Regions from separate parts of the Homo sapiens genome. Here all the other regions are linked to region 3. Evidence: promoter capture Hi-C in 16 types of primary human blood cells and fetal thymus (Javierre and others, 2016). All regions are on one chromosome and are shown on one strand. The core of a region is centred on a gene start or on the middle of the fragment in contact, and the rest is flanking DNA. Distances in the headings are between cores, read along the strand shown.

Region 1 (4,148 bases), core at 1,462-3,961, 500 kb after region 3:
CCATTACCAAACTCCAGACTCTAGTAACCTTACACCAGAATCACTTCAATACTTCTACTATCTTCATAAAGTCTTTTTTCTTCTAGGACATATAATAGAGCACTACCTAATTAATCCCTCTAAAATGCGATCTCTAAAAATATCAGTGCTAAATTATTCAGCCTAGCATCAAAGTCTCTCCCCAACCTAGACTCTACCACCTTTTCGCCCTTGGTGGTTTCCTGTGGGTTGAACACAAGGAAATAGCCCAAAAAGCCTCACCAGTTTTTCTGGGAGATACTATTTCTCTTAGATAAATTAAATCTGATTTCACATTTGTAGATTCAATTCAACTTTTCTTAGTCCTCTATTATATGCCAGGCACCATGCTTGACACTGGAGAAGCAACAATGAGTGAGACATGACCCTGACTTTGAAGAGCTCACTGTGATGGGTAGGAGAGTTTAAAGGGCTCCCCAACCCACCTTGTCACCCCTATTTCTACCACTACAAAATATGTGGCAACTGCTAGAAGGGATTATTCATAAAATGTTAAGAGAGCACAAATAAGGGAGTTGAGATTAGAGAGAGTAGATGTACAAAGACCATGCAAGAGCTACAATAGGTTATTTATTTATGATCCTAATTAGGGTTTCTAGTCCTAAATGATATGCAAAATAAGAAAAAAAAGTCTTCCTATATAACTACAAGGTTGCAGATCCCTAAATTAGAATAGAAGCAGAGAAGAGGGAAAGGCAGAAACCAATCTAGAGTAATGAATAACTTATAGGACTCTGTGAATAACCATATGGGAGAGAGAATTAAAGGCAAGGATTAAGCTGGATTCCAAGTTCTCAGGTCTGAGTGCCTGAGGTAAAACAGGATGTTTGAGTGGCAAAACAGTCAGAATAGAAGGACAGCTGGAGAGGGGGAAGGTAGTGTGGCATTTTGGATGTACTTATGGAAGAGATGTCTCTACTTGTAGCAGGAATTTAAAAATGAGACCTAGAACTCAGTTTTGATGTATACTTGGTGACATGATAAAAACATGAAGAAAGAAGTGGAAAAAGAAGAGCAAAAAGCCAAGAACAGAATTTTAGAAATCATCCAGATGTGAAGTCAACAGAACATGATGAAATCAAAATAAGAACATAAATAAGGAGCAGCCAGAAAGTTAAGAAGAGAAACACCACATAATCTAGAACCTTTCAGTCTTATCATACATTACTTCAAAATAAAGACCACGAATTATCCTCTGCTCTAGCAAATTTTCTCCCTAAAGGCACTTCTTTGGCCATTTGTTAGTGGTCATGAAAGTGGGGTTAGCTTTAGAAAATTCTTTTCAAAATATGAAGCACGGAATCTTTATAGTACATACAAGGGTATGTTTTTAATTATGAAATGAAAATATAAAAGAAAATCTAATGAAATGCACTATAATTCACTTACATTTTACTGAGAAAAATGTACATGTGGCTTCTCTCCAGCAGATTTCACTGCTCCCGATAGTCACACTGGGGTAAATTGCCACCAGCAAGCTTTATACTTCAAAACAATCAAAATGAAAGAACATATGAGGTTCTACATAACAAATATAGGTCTGCATTTAAAGCCATTGTGTTTTATATTTTTAGTCATAAGCACAGGTCTCTTTATATTAATGTTGAAAGGACCTACAAATAGTTCATAAATTTAGGCCTGTAAAACTGCATACCTCCTACTGATACACAATACTGCTAGTTTTTATAAGCCTTCTCTGAAGCAGAGTCCTCAACTCCAAAGGCCACAAAAGGATGTTGACTAGGACTGGCCTATGCCTAAGGGACAAATAGTTCAAGTGAAGTCAAATATTAGCACTAAGAATTGAAATGTAACCTAACCAACCTACAAATCAAAGTTTTGTGATAATTTATTTTTCTTAAATGAGGCGCAATAGGATTTCAGTATCAGACATTGTCAAAATTCCAGCTCTGCTTCTTAATAGCTATGTGATCTTGAAAATGTTAGGAGATCTCGGTTTCCATATATGAGAAATGGATGGTTGTGTATAACTTGCAGGGTCATTGGGAAGGTTAAAAAAGATAGCTCATAGGTGGGAATTGAACAATGAGATCACATGGACACAGGAAGGGGAATATCACACTCTGGGGACTGTGGTGGGGTGGGGGGAGGGGGGAGGGATAGCATTGGGAGATATACCTAATGCTAGATGACGAGTTAGTGGGTGCAGCGCACCAGCATGGCACATGTATACATATGTAACTAACCTGCACAATGTGCACATGTACCCTAAAAACTTAAAGTATAATAAAAAAAAAAAGAAAAGTAAAAAAAAAAAAAAAAAATCAAAAATGAAAAAAAAAAAAAGATAGCATATATAAATTGCCTACAACAGAGCCTAGTCCATATATCTGTGCAATGTAATTGGGTAGACTAGTTTTAAAGAATAACATTAATTTTGTTTGATCTCTTTTTCTCTCCCACAATTTTTTCTACTTGTATTAACAAGAAAGCAGCATTTTTGTAATCTGACATTTTCTAGATTCCATATGATTAATGCAATTTTCAGCAAACTTTATGGTTAATTTCTCTAGCTTTTATGACCATCTATGATTAATGCTTTCTTAGCTAGTAATAAATGTGATAATGTTATGAGTTCTGTAACTTGAAGCATTATAAGTAGAACAAAATGAGATGATTTATGCAATTAAAGACAGGTAGGACAGCCCACACTTGACCCCCATTCAAAAAATATAAAATAATTTAAAATAGGAGTGCAGGCCTGTTTAGAAGAGAAAAACACATCATGCAAAAAAAAGAAACTGTGCTTTAAAAAGGTTGTCTGAAACTTTTTACAAAATACAGCATGCTCAGTAACAACATGGCTTTTTTTAGTCAGATTTGCTTCAAGTGAGTCATCGAAGTTCTCTGTGCCTCAATTTCCTTTTCTGTTAAATAATAATGGCAATATTTAAAGATTAAATGATTAATATATAAGCTATATAACTGTCAAGAGTAGTTATTTCTCAACAGTTTGTTGTTATTCTTTCGAGATTCATCCGGGTCCTGAGAACAAACAGAAAAAACTCAGCTAAGGATATGAAGAGAATTTAATGTTGGGGCTATTTTCAGAGGTGTAGGGACCAATAAGACCCAGGACTGTCAACAATCAGAAGCCATCATTACAACAGGATATGTAGAGGTAAGCAAGGGGAAGACAATTCTAGCCAACCTGGTGGTCATAAAGGGTTGCAGAACTACAGTACTCAAAGGGAAGGGGAGAAATATTTCTATTTTCAACTGACTAAAGCCAACAGAAAGCTAGAGGGCAAAGAACTGTACAGCCAAGGTGCTGGAGTCCATGGGAATCATCCTCCATGGACAGGCTCTCCAAGGGCAGAGAAGAGCAGAGAATCAATCGGGGGGTTGGAAGGTTAAACAGAGTCTATCCAACCTAAATTATAATTGAATAATTAAATCGAACCCTGTATTCCTCATAGTTACACTTAGGCCAGACCCTTTATTTTGCTCACTGGACTCCATTCTCAGTTCTCCATCTATTCCAAGTCCTTTTTTTGGCAGGGGACAGACTTAGTGTGATAGCTGTGCCACACCTGTTATCTTCTGGGTTCTTGATCAGTGAAGGGTAAGCCTTCATTTTGAGGCATTTCTGCTTCTCTTTTACTGCTCCAATTCATAGTCAAAAGGAATACAATTCTTGATGATTAAAAAGTACGATAAGTCTGATAAATCTGTTGTCAGTTTGTTCATGCAAAAGATAGAGTGTAAAAATCTAATGAGCCTTTCAACATTTTTGTGACTGCTTGGCAAACAAAGCAATGGCTCATTTTGGTTTTGCTTATTTACTATACTCTCCTCTACAGAATGATTCATAATGCCAACATTTACCTTTAGCCAAAGCTTTTACATTCAATCAGCAAACCACTTAAATACATCAGCCTGAATCTTGATATCAGTAATCTGGGTGAATTGGTATAAATTTTTGTTTCAGGTGTTTAAATTATTAATTTATAACAAGAGGAATTTTAAAAGAGACCAAATCTACTCTACTGTTTGGGGGGGTGTGTGTACATATAATAGTTAAAATGAAAAAGCATTTTGTGATTTTGTTACAATCTTCTCAATAACCTCTCAAATTAGGTATTTAG
Region 2 (3,849 bases), core at 504-3,003, 470 kb after region 3:
ATGCTAAACACACAATAATTATAATTTTAACAAGACATTAACATTTTCTCCAAACTCCAAAGGTGATTTAGGTAATGTTACATAACATACGTGCCAGGAAATTGTCAAATTAAACTAAGCAGGGCTTGCCTCAGATAAAAAAAAAGCAACATGGGCAAGTTTATCCTTCATTCCAGGACTCTCTCCTCACTTTTAGACTATTCCCGCAGCTCAGATGGATTGCCATCTAAAGCAGATGGTCGTATTTATTTATTCAATTTGTTTCTCCTCACCAACAAAAGCTTATCTCTGCCATGTACCTGCTTTACTCAACCCTCTGCTCCCTGATTCCCACAGCATTGCACAGAAATTCACCTTCTCTATTCCTCTACTTCATGGTCCAAAGTATTTGCTAGCTAGCCTTGTAAATCATTCCTGCTTAGTATGCTAATTAGGGGAACTAGATGACCACTCCATGCATGTGTTAACTGCAGCCTTCTGAGGGCAATAGTACGGCTTTTTGTCTAATGCCTCAGTTACAGAAAAGTTATTCCTGAACTTCCTCTGTGAACCTACAGCTCCTGTGCACACCTTTGTAACACACATTACTTGATAGTGTAATTATTTCTTTAAATCTTTGGCTAGATGTAGTCCAATACCTCATACATTATAAATGCTTAGTAAAGGATTACTGAACTGAACTGTCAAATTGAAAACTGTTAAATTGGAACCATTTCAGCCAAAAACCAGAAATTGCATTTCAGAGGGAGTTCTTTCTTTCAGGAAAGACTAAACTAATAAGAGAAATAACAGGCAGTGAGGTCAAGGATCTGAAGCCTTTCCCAGCTCATGAAAAAAATCCCCTCTGTTGATAGCAGGTAGATTTAAAACAGCCTCTTAGGTGAAACAAGTGTACTCTCTGGGAGGAGCATGCTTTAACTGGAATTTGCCTAATGTCCAACCTTGTGACAGTCCCAGAAAGAATCACCGTCAAAGGAAGAGAACCTGTGCAATTTGCTGTTGATCCTTCACTTTTATCTAGTTACTTTTTGTTTTTAAATTCAGGCAATAAAAAAGCAACTTTGCGCCAAAAATTTTCAGCAAAAAAGTACAATATATATAAACATCAATCTCCTGCTGGAGCTTAAAACCTCAATCTATTTAATATTTAATATCTTGGTCCTACAAAAAGTAAAATGACTCTAGAAAATGAGGGAGAAAGAATAAATAGTCCTTGGGGGTAAACTATAGAGAAGAGGTTGACACCATAGCATGTTACAGTGGGGACTACATTTTAATAGTTTCAAACGTGTAAAGCAGTTTATATTATAGTTCTCTAGCACTTAAAAGAATCCAAAAGTGTCTTTATAGCAGCATGATTTATAGTCCTTTGGGTATATACCCAGTAATGGGATGGCTGGGTCAAATGGTATTTCCAGTTCTAGATCCCTGAGGAATCGCCACACTGACTTCCACAATGGTTGAACTAGTTTACAGTCCCACCAACAGCGTAAAAGTGTTCCTATTTCTCCACATCCTCTCCAGCACCTGTTGTGTCCAACAATGAGAGACTGGATTAAGAAAATGTGGCACATATACACCATGGAATACTATGCAGCCATAAAAAATGATGAGTTCATGTCCTTTGTAGGGACATGGATGAAATTGGAAATCATCATTCTCAGTAAACTATCGCAAGAACAAAAAACCAAACACCGCATATTCTCACTCATAGGTGGGAATTGAACAATGAGATCACATGGACACAGGAAGGGGAATATCACACTCTGGGGACTGTTGTGGGCGGGGGAGGGGGGAGGGATAGCATCGGGAGATATACCTAATGCTAGATGACGAGTTAGTGGGTGCAGCCCACCAGCATGGCACATGTATACATATGTAACTAACCTGCACAATGTGCACATGTACCCTAAAACTTAAAGTATAATAATAATAAAAAAAAGAATCTAAAAGTGAAAGAGCACCAGGCTGCAGGCAGAAAACCTGACTTCCAGACCCAACATCAGCATACACTGTGCCCCTGAGCAAAGAACTTAATGGCACCTCTGGGTTTTTACCTAAAAACCAAGAGTATTGAACTTGATGTGATGTTAAGTTTCTTTCAAGGCATATTACTCAGTAATTCCACATTTGATTTGTTCTTTATGGGAAATGAAACTAATAGGGGGTACAATTGACCATAAACTGCATTAGTATGTATCATTTTATAGGGGTTCCTGTATTGCCCTGATCAGATAAGACCGAAGTCTTTATTCTCACAGCTGGTGTTCTGAATGGCTCACAGCTGAGTCCCTCTCAATGAATTACCTGCAGAAATCTGACTGGCAACTTATTTCCAAGAAACAGCCTCCATCTGCTGATCACTTTAGAGATACAGAGGCTGGGCCCTCTTGCCTCAATTTTGAACAATGCTGAAAGACCATCCTAGTTGCAAAGTATCCTAAGGATTCCACTGAAGTTTGCTGCAACTGTAATAGAGGTCAACTCCTCCCTCAGCCCAATTCTGCTTCCCTGCCTCCATTCTAACTGTTGCATCCAAAAGTGTTGCCCAATATCCTCCCATCTCCAACTCAGGTAATTTCCCGGGGAATCCAACTTCAGATAGCTGGTACTACATATGGTCCCAGGCAGCAAATTATAGAATGGAATTTTGGAGAGCTGATAATAAGCATCCCTTTGCTGGTGATAACTGTAAGACTGATCATTCCTGGCATGCGATAGTGGTGAAATTAATAAAACTTTTACCTGTGGTAAATTGAGAGAAGACTTCAGTGTGTCAGAAAACACTAGGAGGTTCAGTATCTTAGATATTTGAAAGGCTTAGGGGAAAAAGTAGTTATAAGAACTATAGAATCAGATAGCTGTTGCTGGCTACCACTGATGCATTGCAGGAATTTAATGGCACTGAGGGGTATTAATCTCAAATTTAAGGCAAAGTATAAAAGACCAAGGGCCTCCTTGGAGGCATATAAAGAGATTCTCATCTACTACAGCCAGATAGCAGAAGTAGCTTAAGATCAGACTCCACTCTAAATGTATAAGAAAACCAGAGGTCCAGAGAAAAGAAGTTGAATTCTCTACCCCAGCTGTTATGCCACCAAAGTGAGACCCCAAGACTCAGAATGGGGACATGTGGGTTGAGATACTCAAGAGTCTTGAACCCTCAGATCCTACTCAACGCTGTAGCTCTGCACAAGTGGTTCACTCTCCTCCCATAAAGCTTGGTATTCTGCCCTTACTTGAAGATGCTGCAAGGCCTTGAAAAAGAACACATGCCCTTCTCAGATTCTACCCCACCTCCATTTCTGGCCACAAGACTAATAAATAGGGTCAAATTACAGCATAACCCAGCCAAGGATGCACTGGGCTTGCTAAGAGAAGAGAAACACAGGAGGAGCTGCAGGGCCCAGGGACCAAGATTCAGCAAGAACCAGAGGAGCGTGTGCAGGACAAGATCCCTAGGGCACTAGATCAGGAGTATAGCACATAAACTTGGGTAAGGGAGCTTTTATCAATAAGGGGGCACTGTCCAGTGACACAGGAATTAATAATTTGGCAAGAACCCTGGAAGATGGGTGCTAACACACTGCTAGCATGGCTTTTGGAAGCCCGGAAAAAGAAATTATCTACACTAAGAAAACCAGAAATGTCAGAAAAGCTGAGACAGTAGAAAGGCACGGCTGAACGTAGTGGCTCACGCCACTGTGGGAGGCCGAGGCAGGTGGATCACCTGAGGTCAGGGGTTCCAGACCAGCCTGACCAATATGAACCTGACTTTACTAAAAATACAAAAGTTAGCCAGGCGTTGTGGCATGCTCCTATAGTCCTAGCTATTCGGGAGTCTGAGGC
Region 3 (3,977 bases), core at 382-2,881:
CGAGGGGGCTCTTGAAATTTGGTTTGGAAATTGAATACAGGAGGTTAATCTCTAGAGGCCAGTCATCCAAACAACCCTCAGTCTCCTCCCCGTTGGCTTCAGAAACAGGATTACAATTTTGGACCTAGACTACGCCCCACCCCTTTTCCCGCTGCAGCCACCGCCACCTTCGAAGTTCTAGTCTTAGCTCTCACGCAGCGGAGCTGCGGACTCCCTCACCGAGAACCGCACCAGGACCCCATTCAGTAGTGAGCGGCGCGCTGGGACTCTGCTACCAGCTCCGCGACGCCGCCGGCAGCCAGCCTGGCTCGGGAGACCCCACCCCTCCCAGCCCGGCCCCCGCCCCCGCCCGGAGCCGCCGCCTGAGTTACGCAGCCTCAGCCCTGACACCTTCTCTGCTTCTTTCCATCTGGATCACCTGGGGCTAGGGGCGGGCGGGAGTAGGGCTGAACCGAAGTGGGATAGGAAAAGCGGGGAAGAACCGAAGCAGTCCCAGCTGCAGAGAGCCAGGACGCCAATGGCAAGACCCCGGCCACACATACACTCTCCTGCGCGTCCTGCTTCTCGGGTTCAATGCCAAGTGGCGACAGGGTGGAAGGAAGGAAGCAGAGGTAGGGTGGCGGGAAGGCCCAGAGTTACTGGTAACGACGTTCGGAGGAGAGCAGGGGATGCTTCAGAAACTGAGAAAGTGAGAAAGTCCCAGACCCCCTCCTTAGCCCCAAGGCTGCCAGCAGCCCGGGTCGCCTTCCCTACAGCGAGGCTCGAGAGACAGGGAGGGTAGTCTGAGCCAAGCTTCCTCCAGGCTGCCCTCCCTGATCTGGCCCAGGGCCCAGAACCCGGCCCCTCTTCAGCCCTGACTTGGGGAGGCTGACAGATAGGCAGCGGACTTGCCAAAGGACTCTGGGGAAGCAATAGGGCAGGAGAGGAGCATCTTGCACGCTCCAGCCGGGCTGCTCACGACTTCCTCTGCCGACACACCCCCAGCTAACCCTCTCCCCCGTCGTCACACACACAGATTCAGAGACACGCGTGCGTTCATCCCTCCCACCAGCCCAGGTCCATCGATTAAAACACTAGTTGATTTCTTCCTGATTAAAAAAAAAAATTAAAAAGTGCAACAACAACTCCTCTCAGGACTCCAGGAGCAAAGAAAGTCCGTCTGCAGGCGCCTTTTCTGTAGTTTCCCAGGAGTTTGGAAATCTGGCTGTCCCTGCTGAAAATCGGAAAGGGGACCCCGGAGGGGTCGAAGGGTGCCGAACTCCCTCCCCACCCCTGCGCCTCTCACCTCCTTAAGTTCCTTGGCCACGTCCTTCAGGTCGCCCAGGACTAATTCCAAATCCTCCACGATGATCTTGATCTGTTCCTTCACCTTGGTTTTGGAGGCTGCCGGCGGTCCCTCGGCTGGACAGGACGAGGAGGGGTTCCCCTTGGACTTGGCTGACATTCTTTGGGGGCAAGCGAGGCAGGTCAGGACAGGCGGGCGAGCGGAGGCTGCTGCGTGCCCCCGTCCCTGGCGCTGCTACGGCCGCTGCCGCCCCGGTCCCCCCACATCTTGGGCGCTCCCTGGGCAGCGGCGAGTGGCTGCGCTCCGCGCTCGGCCGGGCGGCCGCACAGTGGTGCTGCCATCAACTCCCGAGACGCGGCGCTCGGCTCGGGGCTGCAGACGGGCGAGCAGCGCGCCTGCGCCTCCTCCCGCCGCCGCCCGGCGCTCTCGCGCACACGCGCTCGCTCCCCGCCCGCGGAGAGGGGCGCCGTGCTGCCGCGCCAGGGTTGACGCTTGCAGTCCCCTCGACGTTGCCCTTCGAGATATCTCCCAGATGCCACCTTGGCATCAAGGTGGGGGAGACAAGTCCGTGTCCTGCCCGCCCCCTCCTCTTGGTTCTGAAATGTCCCCATCATCTCAGCCTGCTTGCTGTATGTCATCTCACAACTAGCCTGGATTCTTTCTGCTTCACTTGCTAGCAGGGACCTGGATCAATTCAGAAAGAACCACAGTGGGATCAGGAGTTGGAGACAGTCTGTAAAGTGGCCCTACAGATTTATCCAAACCCAAATGATGTCCAGAGGCCTTTAATCAATCTCTTGGTGACCTGCGAGTTAAGCAGACTTCTTAACTTCTGCAAGAAAAAAGGGGGGGGGGGGTGCACATAACAGCTAATGGTCATCTATTGAAACCATGAAATTCAACCAGTGTTCTTGAAAGAGGTACCCTAATCCTGCTAATTCCACAAAGCTAATACCGGATTTATTAATTTGAAGTCCCCACACCCCAAATCCTCTCTGATTGTCTCAGTCATCTTGGCTGTATGTCTTATTTGGCCCAACTCTTTTTTTTTTTTTTAACTGTCCTTCCTCTTTTTGTGACCTATGCTGATTTACATTTTGAGTGGAGTGGGGGAGACATCGTATTTGGACCTCGTGAAGGAGCTGAGTAAGAGATTGCCTCCAACTTCTCTTTCATCATTTTTTAAACCTCCATTTCAACTCTTTTGCTACTAAACAAATAGGAAACAACTTTCTGACTGTTCTGTCAAAAAGACCCAAGAAGGGAAGTTAATAGGAAGCCTTCGGTTCACTCTCAGTAGGTGTCTACAATTCTCATTAGCTAGAATTTTAACTTCCTTAGTTGTAAACCCATGGGCTATTAGCTACTGACCCAGCAGGCTGGCTCTACTTTATTTTCTTCACTGCACACTCCTCCAGATCATTCTTTTAATAGGCTTCCCCTTTTCGTCGTGCCTTAGCAAGGCTCTCTGTTTCTTGCTTCTCACACTCTGGGTAGCTCCACTGTGCTACACATAAAGAAAAGCTTGGCAGCTCTCCTCTTCCCAGTTCTGTAGGCTCTTAATCAATCACTCTCTTAATCCTGGACAATTCATCTTTACAAAACCTTTGGAAGTCATATGTGGAATATAGAGGAAGAAAGAGAACAGAAGAAAAAATTGAAATTTGAAAGTGGTGTCAAAAGAAAACCATTGAAAACTGCATTGAAAAATCAGGGGAAGAAATGAGAAAAGGTGAAAAGCAGATGCTGCTGGAAAGACTTAAGAAGAGATTATAAGAACAAGTCTGCAGCATGCAAACTGGAGAAAAGAAAAAGAGAAGAAATGATTAAAAGTGTGAAATAAGTAATATGCTTGAGTTCTCTGAGGTAGGGAGAATTAGATTTTTAAAACATCCTTTTTCTCCTCAAATTCTTTATTTTATAAAAAATATAACATTAAAATAATTATATCAGGTTTACAGACTCCCCAAAATTGTCAAAACTAGCAAAAGCTAATGGTAGGGGAAAAGAGAAAGTACTATTCTTCTAGATTGGAATTATTTTTGACTCTTAATAGTAGGCAAGTGTGTAAGAAAGCCGCCAAACTCAAAGTTAAGTGACTTTAGACAAGGATATGGGAGAGGAGGAAAGGAAATTGTGATTTCCCTCACAGTGACAAAATAATCCTCCCACAATATAAGAAGATGTCCATGCTACTCTGAATCTCATTCACTAAAGATTAAAAAAAAAAAAACAAAACAGGCTAGGCACAGTGGCTCATGCCTGTAATCCCAGCACTCTGGGAGGCCGAGATGGGTGGATCACAAGGTCAGGAGTTCAAGACCACCCTGGCCAAGATGGCAAAACCCCATCTCTATTAAAAATACAAAAATTAGCTGGGCATGGTGGCAGGAGCCTGTAATCCCAGCTACTCAGGAGGCTGAGGCAGAGAATTGCTTGAACCCGGGAGGTGGAGCTTGCAGTGAGCTGAGATCGTGCCAGTGCACTCCAGTCTGGGTGACAGAGCGAGATTCCGTCACAAAAACAAAACAAAAAAAACTGTTCTCTTCTGATACTCTGATATCCACTGCTGCTACTGAAACAAATAATTCTGACTTAAAATCAAATCATAATTATTGCTTAGAAACACACCACCCACACCCATATCACAGTTCACTCTGAAATAATCACTATCATCTATCTATCTATGTCT
Region 4 (3,763 bases), core at 120-2,619, 430 kb after region 3:
ATTCCAAGTGTATTTGGAAGCAGGAAATGAAGAGCTGAAAGGAAGAAACAAAATGCTATACATTTAAAAAAACATCACTCTGGCTGTACAATGAAAAAAATAGGCTTCATTAGGGCAATAATGGAATTACAGAGTGCAAGTAGGAGAAAAATGCAATAGTGCACACAAAACATAATGGCTCTGAGGTAGAGCCAATTCATATTTTGAGTGTGGAAAAAAATAGGCTGTTGATGAGGTGAGATGTGAGAGAAAGAGATGAATTAAAGATGATTCCATGGTTTTTGCCTTGAGCAACTGGATATATGGTGATGCTGTTTCAGAGTTGGGGAAATCTATAGGAAAAGCATATTTAGGGAATGAAATCAAAAGATCGATTTCCAATTTATTAATCTTGAGATGTCAATTAAAGATCAATTGGAGATTTTCAGTGATCAGGTGGATATTCTAATCTGGAATTCAACAAACAGTTGAGAGCTGGAAATACACATTTTGAAGTCATCAGCATATAGGGGGCTATGTTTTATAATTGGAGTATTTGCATCCTTAGTGGATGTTGGAAATTTGTGGAGAAGTTTTAGGATCTTAAACTATTTAAAGAGTGCTCCTGAAATTTAGTGGATGACAAGGATTACTCGACTTTGAAATGCCATATAAGCAGAAAGCTTGTTTGTAATTATTTGCTCCTAGATCCAAATCATAATTAGATATTGATATAGTTTGGCTGTGTTCCCATCCAAATCTCATCTTGAATGGTAGCTCCCATAATTCCCACGTCATGAGAAGGACCCAGTGTGAGGTAATTGAATCGTGGGGTGGGTGATTCCTGTGCTGTTCTCATGATAGTAAATAAGTCTCACAAGACCTGATGGTTTTATAAAGCGGAGATCCCCTGCACATGCTCTCTGGCCTGCTGCCATGTAAGATGTGACTTTGCTCCTCTTTTGCCTTCCACCATGATGGTGAGGCCTCCCCAGCCATATGGAACTATGAGTCAATTAAACCTCTTTTTTTATAAATTACCCAGTCTCAGATATGTCTTTATGAGCAGTGTGAGAACAGACTAATACACTTATATACACGAAAAATTTTTGTACAGGTTTACTGCATATTTATTTTCTTCCATAAATGCAACTACTATGAATATCAACAGAAGATTAAATTTTATTTTATTCAGCAAATTACCATTGATCCCAATTTTGGAAAACCATGTCACCAATAGCAGGTAACACATGGTTTTGAGCTAACAGCACAACAGACTTTATTAGCTTGCATTTATTAGAATGGGTACAAGCATCTGAATATTTTATTATGTCCTCTAATATAATTGTCCTTGAGAATTTACAATTGAATCATATAATTTTATTATATATTTTGGTTTTTTCTCAACTTCATTTAAGAATCAGAGCTTCTTTTGAAAGTACCTATATAGATAGATCAAATTATCCATGACCTTAATTTCAGAATGTTAAAGAGAGAGTCACAAAATATTGACTATACGAAGGGGCATTGGGCCTAACACAATAGACCTACAGAGCAAGAAGAGAAATGAGAAAAGAAGTGAGGACAAAGCTCAGAGGCAATTCAACATTAGAGGTCAAGAAGATGAAGTGGAACCAGTAAAGAAGTTTAAAAAGAAGTGGCCACTGGGCTATGGAGAAAAACAGGAAAATATGATATCCTAAAAACCAAGCAGAGAACATTTTTAAAGCAGAGAGAATAATCAAACTTGTCATGGGTCAAGTTAGACAAGCTAGACAAAAACTTGTCATGGGTCAGGTTTGCTCATGGATCAAATTAAATGAGGACTGAGAGCTAATCACTGGATTTGGCAAAGTGAAGCTCATTGAATCTTTGAAATAGTTACAGTGGACTGGTAGAGACAAAAGCCTGATTTAGATTAAATAAAAAGAGAACGTGAACTTCCAGGTATGGACAAGATGAAGTAACAGAAACTGTATTTATCCTCCCACCTGAAACAATAAATAAGTGAGCAAAATATGTAGAAAGGGGGCAGTACAGGGTTTATTTGTTTGTTATATACTACAAGACTTTTCACAGGCATATTGAGGAAGCTTATGTAAACTCAGCATGATCTTGGTCACAGAAGAGTTAGGCCAGAAAAATGCAAGTTACTTATTATTTTCTGATGCAGGAGAAAGCCTTTGTGAACTATGAGATTCACATATTATTTTCTCTTCATCAGCATAAAAGAAAAAACAACAGAAGCAAAGTTGCTTAATATCCAAACGCTATGGGCAACTCCAAAGAGAAATCAAAGAAGAAAAGAATATGCTAGATACTTCATCTTTGTAATATCCAAGAAACTCTAACAAAGTGTCAAGAAAACTTCAAGATAAATGAATTTACTTAAACCATGAGAAAGTCATGATTACATTAAGCAGTGATTTAAAACAGTTGAAAAGTTTACTCTAGGACATATAGTATCCCTTAAAATGTATCTTTTAAATGCTAGCTATTTTTATATTTGGCTATTTAAATAGAGCTCGTGTTTCAAAGAGAAAACATATACCTGTGTTGGAAAACACATTAACTGCAGACATTCCACACCTCTGGAACCCACCTACCAAGTAATTTGGGACACTGGATAGACTCCATCCTGAGACAGAGTCAACATGTTCCCATCACAGCTGTGGTCTCCTTCCTACCTGGTAATAAGTACAGCTGTTTAAAACCAGTAGTCATAGCCTGAACACCACCAACTTACCCAAATTTTAGGGTGGCAATTTACCTAAATTGCAGACCATGGTCCTCCAAGTAAATAAACAGCCTCTGGAGCATAATTTTGTAATGTAAATACAGAAAATGACAGCAAATGGCACTAGTAATCTAGGGGGGGTTACATAATTTGCAAGCATAATGAGTACCTCCCGAGAATAAATCCTAGTAAGGGAGCCATGATCTTCTAATAACCAGGTTGCAACCTCTTGGAAAAGGTGTGCCAAACCATTCTTTCTGCTCTATGTGGGACTGCAAGCATGTTAGGACTCTGCTGAAGCACTGACCATTCTGTTTAGACACAAATACAAATCATATAAAAATTTTGAGAATGAGTAAGCAATAGAATGATGGTAAATGAGAGTAAAGGAGTTGAGACTTAACCAAGGAACAAAGCTGGATTATTCACACCCATGACAAAGACTGTGCCCAAAACTGGTCAGTGGTGCTAATGTGTTAAGGATTAAAGAATATATTCTCAGAGTGACTTTAGCAAGATAATGGAAGATTCCCAGCTCATGTTCTCCCCACACGAATGACAAACTACAGCCATCAGAGGCAAAAGTGCCTGTGTGGGAGCTTTTGAATCCAGGTAGATTGTGAAACCCTCCTGAAGCCCAGTACTGAGGACAGCCATATGGAGAAGGCAGACCCATACACGAGTGGCAGGCTTGCTGAGCACAGTTCTGGCTGCAGAGCAAAAGTAGTCCCACCTCCCTCTGGACTCAGCTTCAACCCTACTTGGCTGTAGTTTCTAAATGAGCTCCTTCCACCATTGCAATTCATGTCCCCTAATAACAGGCCCTCCAACCTCAGACACAATCCAGGATTCTGAAGCAGGTCCTCACTACCATAGTCCAGAGTCAGTCCTGCCAACCCAGGAAACTGGTGGGAAACACACCTCTTCATGTCCCCAGTAATAAGCCTGGGGACCTTTACCTCACTACAGATGCTGAAGCAGCCCTGTGCCTCAGCTCCAGCTCTACTTGATCATATCCTAGATTTAGTCTTACCAGAGATCAATCCT
Region 5 (3,791 bases), core at 108-2,607, 450 kb after region 3:
AAATTTGAGAAGAAATGACAGGATAAATGGTATCTAACTAGAAGCGGTAAATTTCTAGGGTAGTCACAAGGAGATACACAGAAGGGTATAAAACTCCTGGAAGATAAGGGGTACTTTGGAAAGTATATTTATCCAGGTCCATTGTAGCCCCCCAGTTCCCAGTCTCTTATGATAAGGGCTATTTTCTTGCCCTGGTTCTGTGAGGGTACACCTCCCAGAGGAATCTTTATGGCTTGCTGTGTGGAAGAAAAGATAGGTCATCTACTTGTTTCTGTAACTACAATTTTTCCAAGGTTTTCAACTCAAAATAATCAATTTACCAATTATCATGCATTGAGATGGCATATCCTTCACTCCTTTAAAATTCTGATTCATTATACCCCATGTCAAATGCATCCTTCTTAAACAAGCGTATTCTGTCACTACACTTCTCAAAATTATTATGTTTCACCATATTCCTATTCATCAACACAAACCTCTGTCTCACTTTTAGGGTTTCCTGTAATCCAGCTTGTGAAATTTAGGCATCATTCTGGACTTCTGTCTTATTATTGCCACCCCTGCCTAGAAATTTAACGTCTAATCTATCACCAAGTCCTGTCCGTTCAACTGCCAAGTTCAAGAAACTAATGTATTTCTCATAGACTACAGCAAGCCTATATTATTTCCTGGTTTTTGCTTATAGAACACCACAGTGATTAGGAGCACAAACTGCCTCAGTTCAAAGCTTAGACTTTTCATTTATTAATTGTGTAAATCTGGACAAAATAATTAACCTCCTAGTGCCCTTCTATTTTTCTCTCTAAATTGAGAGGACAATAATGGTACCTACTTCATGGGACTGTTATAAGGATTAATGGGTCAGCACTTTCTGAGTACATAGAATATTATGTGATACATGGTAAGTGCTGTCATGTATGGTATGGTAGGTAGCTTGATGATGATGATGGTGGGGGTGGTGGTTATGAAAAACATTATCTCCTAATTTCCTACACATAAAAACAAAGGAAACTTTTAAAAACATAAATTATGTGTGGTCATATTTGGTCTCCAAAAATTCCCATTCATTTCACTTAAAACAAATTTTAAATTCTCTCCTCTGCTTCTCAATATCCTACATGATCTAGTTCCTGAATGCCTTTTTAGTTCACCTTGAACCATGTGTCCCCTTCTTACTTTACTCCAGGCTCTCAACTTCTGTTAGTTTGTAGAACCCATCAAATTCTTTGATACCTTGTCCCTACCCACTGCTTTCCTTATCTGGCTCTTTTTCTTTCTTTAGGTCTTGGTTCAAAGTCAACTCCTTGGAGGTGCTTTCCCCACCCTACCTAAAATGTCCTTCACCTCCAATGCTGACTGCTGCAGCATCTAGTTGTTGTTGATATTGTTACAATGACTTACCACAAACTTGCTTCCGTTGGTTCTTTGCTTACTGGGTTTTTGTTTTGTTTTGTTTGCTGAACCCAACTAGAATATAAGCTGCATGAGGAAAGGGATCACATCTATCTTGTCCACCATTGACTCACCAGCACTGGGGAGGCTGGTATGCATGTCATTGCTATTTGTGGAATGTTATTCTATCAACGGTTTTATTTTACTCACCTAAATATTTGTTCCTACTCCCAGATTCTTCTCCTCCACTGCGTTCAGGCCATTTACATCAATGTAAACTATCTCCATCTGTGATATTTCACTCAGCCCCCTTGATAAAATAGTCAACCCTTCTATCTTGGTCTACCAAAATTATGATGAAGATTCACCTCCTCCAAGACTTCAGTGAAAACGCTTGCCCTCACTAATCTTTCATGCCTTAGCATTTCTATCTCACTTAAAATTTCTCCCACAAACTGTTAATCCTTATATATAGAACAATATTCTAATTTCTTAATGCATATTACCATCATCTTCTCAACTAAACCCTAAGTACGTATTTTTGTGTTTTTATGTATTTATTCCTAGAGTGTACAATGTCAAAAGAGAAGCTTAATAAAAATTTAGAATTAGATAATTTTATATTGGAGGAAGCTAAGACCTGTATGTACATACTAAACTTCTGAATACCCCAGCAAGACTTTTATCTCAACACCTTAACATCTTTTTTAAAGTAAATTTATTGCTCTAGCAAAATATATATATTTTCTTTATATTATATATATATTCTTTATATTATATATATTCTTTATATTATATATATTATATATATATATATATTCTTTTGTGAATTTTGTAAGAATTTCGTTTTGCTTGGGTGGTGATGACACCTAAGCTTCCCAAAGTACTCCAGACTCTAAAAATTGCAGGAACAAAACATACTGGAGACCATATGGAAAAAGTTCTATAAGAATGCTGTCAGTTAGCGTCTGCTTCTATCAAAATTGATATCGAAACTGATATCCCGAAGCTTTTTAATTCTTCTCTAAGGCGACTGTGTAAAGGATTGCTTAATCATAGAATACCATTAGAAAGTGTTTTGCTCAGATTTGAATTGATGAATTATTTTTAAAAGTTCAATGCTAACTCATATTTGGTTCTCATTTAATTCAAGTTAGATAACTTCTTTTATCAAGGCCACAGTTTCAGTACCAACGCATACAATTCTGAATATCAGTGCTGTTGACTCATGTTTCTTTGTCAAATGTGAATTCAGAGCTCAAGGGTAAGAGTAACTTTTTTATAAACCTTCTTAATCCTTCAGAGCCAAAAGAAGACTTAATTTGTGACCAGGGCTCTTTCCCCAACTCTTCATATCATCATGAAGGGCTGCATAGATTTATCATCTCCTGTGTACCAATTTTGCTCAAGAGGTCCTCTTATCCTCATTCACATTCAAGAAAAAATAATGGGCAGCCAGCTCTGTGCCAGGCATTGGTCTGTACACTCAGGACATTGATGCAAACACAGGCAAGGTGCATGTTCTTCAGGAGGCTTCATTGCATAATTCTGGCAATCTTAGTTTATTTGTCTCTCATTGATAGAGGCATTCTGTGATATTGTAGAATACATATTTGGTCTTTGACCCCATTTTTCTGACATACAATTCCTAAAATTCTTAGAATCTCCAGTGATATTTTTATGTATGTTAATGTGTGTAAATGGTGGCCGGCAGCCTCTAGGTAGCTTCAGGATAGAGGCTTGTCCCTGAAAAAATCCAAGGTATAATTAGTGGGTTGGAACTTTTAGCCCCACCCCACAAAATCTAGGTTGAAGCGAGAGACTGAGGGTTAAATTGATCACCAATGGTCAGTGGTTTGATCAGTCATGCCTTTGTGATAAATCCTTCATAAAAACCCAAAGAAGACAGGGTTGGGAGAGCTTCTGGATAGCCAAACACATGAAGTTTCCTGAAGAGTAGCACCCCTGGGAAGAGCATGGAAGCTCTATGCCACTTCCTGTCCCTCACCCTATGCATCTGTCAACCTGAAATAATTAAAAGGATCAGAATCCAGCTTAGAAGAATTTATTCAAGTGCAAATCTGAGAATAGCCATTCAGGTAGCAAATACTCCAAAGGAATGGGGTCAGTGCTCCAAAGTTGCAAAGTTAAGATCTTGCTTATATAGGCAGAAAACAAAGAAATTTATCCAGATTACTATACTACATTTTTCATACAAGCGTGATTTATAGTTACAGCAATTTGATTAGTTACAGCTGTTTTCCTTTTCCAATTTAAAAGAGTATATTTAACATTCCATCTTAAACAATGTGAAAGTCATAAGGTCTTTTTGTAAGGGAAGAGGGAAGTTAATCTATAATAAGGATCAACACTGAAGAGAAAAAGGATATTGTCTGGGG

The links. Contacts are between HindIII fragments. The CHiCAGO score rates a contact against its expected background, and 5 or more counts as called.
Region 1: a fragment that was not itself captured here is called in contact with the fragment with the promoter of PRR16 in region 3 in 2 of 17 cell types (M2 macrophages and M1 macrophages); the score reaches 7.3 in M2 macrophages.
Region 2: a contact is called between a fragment that was not itself captured here and the fragment with the promoter of PRR16 in region 3, in 2 of 17 cell types (M0 macrophages and M2 macrophages). The highest score is 5.8, in M0 macrophages.
Region 4: a contact is called between a fragment that was not itself captured here and the fragment with the promoter of PRR16 in region 3, in 3 of 17 cell types (monocytes, M1 macrophages and M2 macrophages). The highest score is 7.9, in monocytes.
Region 5: a contact is called between a fragment that was not itself captured here and the fragment with the promoter of PRR16 in region 3, in 4 of 17 cell types (M1 macrophages, M2 macrophages, monocytes and 1 more). The highest score is 6.8, in M1 macrophages.

The regions. Positions count from the first base shown.
Region 1 is chr5:119,961,898-119,966,045 of GRCh38, reverse strand. LOC105379144 (a long non-coding RNA gene) reads right to left here. Exons shown (of 3, transcript XR_948706.2): 2 at 1,429-1,524. Among named protein-coding and RNA genes, the nearest start is that of FAM170A, 330 kb to the right of the region's middle. The HindIII fragment of the contact is 2,383 bases long and covers 1,520-3,902 here.
Region 2 is chr5:119,995,796-119,999,644 of GRCh38, reverse strand. No RefSeq gene overlaps it. Among named protein-coding and RNA genes, the nearest start is that of FAM170A, 370 kb to the right of the region's middle. The HindIII fragment of the contact is 2,939 bases long and covers 284-3,222 here.
Region 3 is chr5:120,461,954-120,465,930 of GRCh38, reverse strand. It overlaps PRR16 (proline rich 16), which reads right to left and starts at 1,631. Exons shown (of 2, transcript NM_001300783.2): 1 at 1,286-1,631. The coding sequence starts at 1,444. RefSeq lists an enhancer at 756-1,257 and a silencer at 1,663-1,712. The HindIII fragment of the contact is 2,017 bases long and covers 795-2,811 here.
Region 4 is chr5:120,029,701-120,033,463 of GRCh38, reverse strand. No RefSeq gene overlaps it. Among named protein-coding and RNA genes, the nearest start is that of FAM170A, 400 kb to the right of the region's middle. The HindIII fragment of the contact is 1,410 bases long and covers 665-2,074 here.
Region 5 is chr5:120,012,499-120,016,289 of GRCh38, reverse strand. LOC124901053 (a long non-coding RNA gene) reads right to left here. Exons shown (of 2, transcript XR_007058913.1): 2 at 3,442-3,550. Among named protein-coding and RNA genes, the nearest start is that of FAM170A, 380 kb to the right of the region's middle. The HindIII fragment of the contact is 1,255 bases long and covers 730-1,984 here.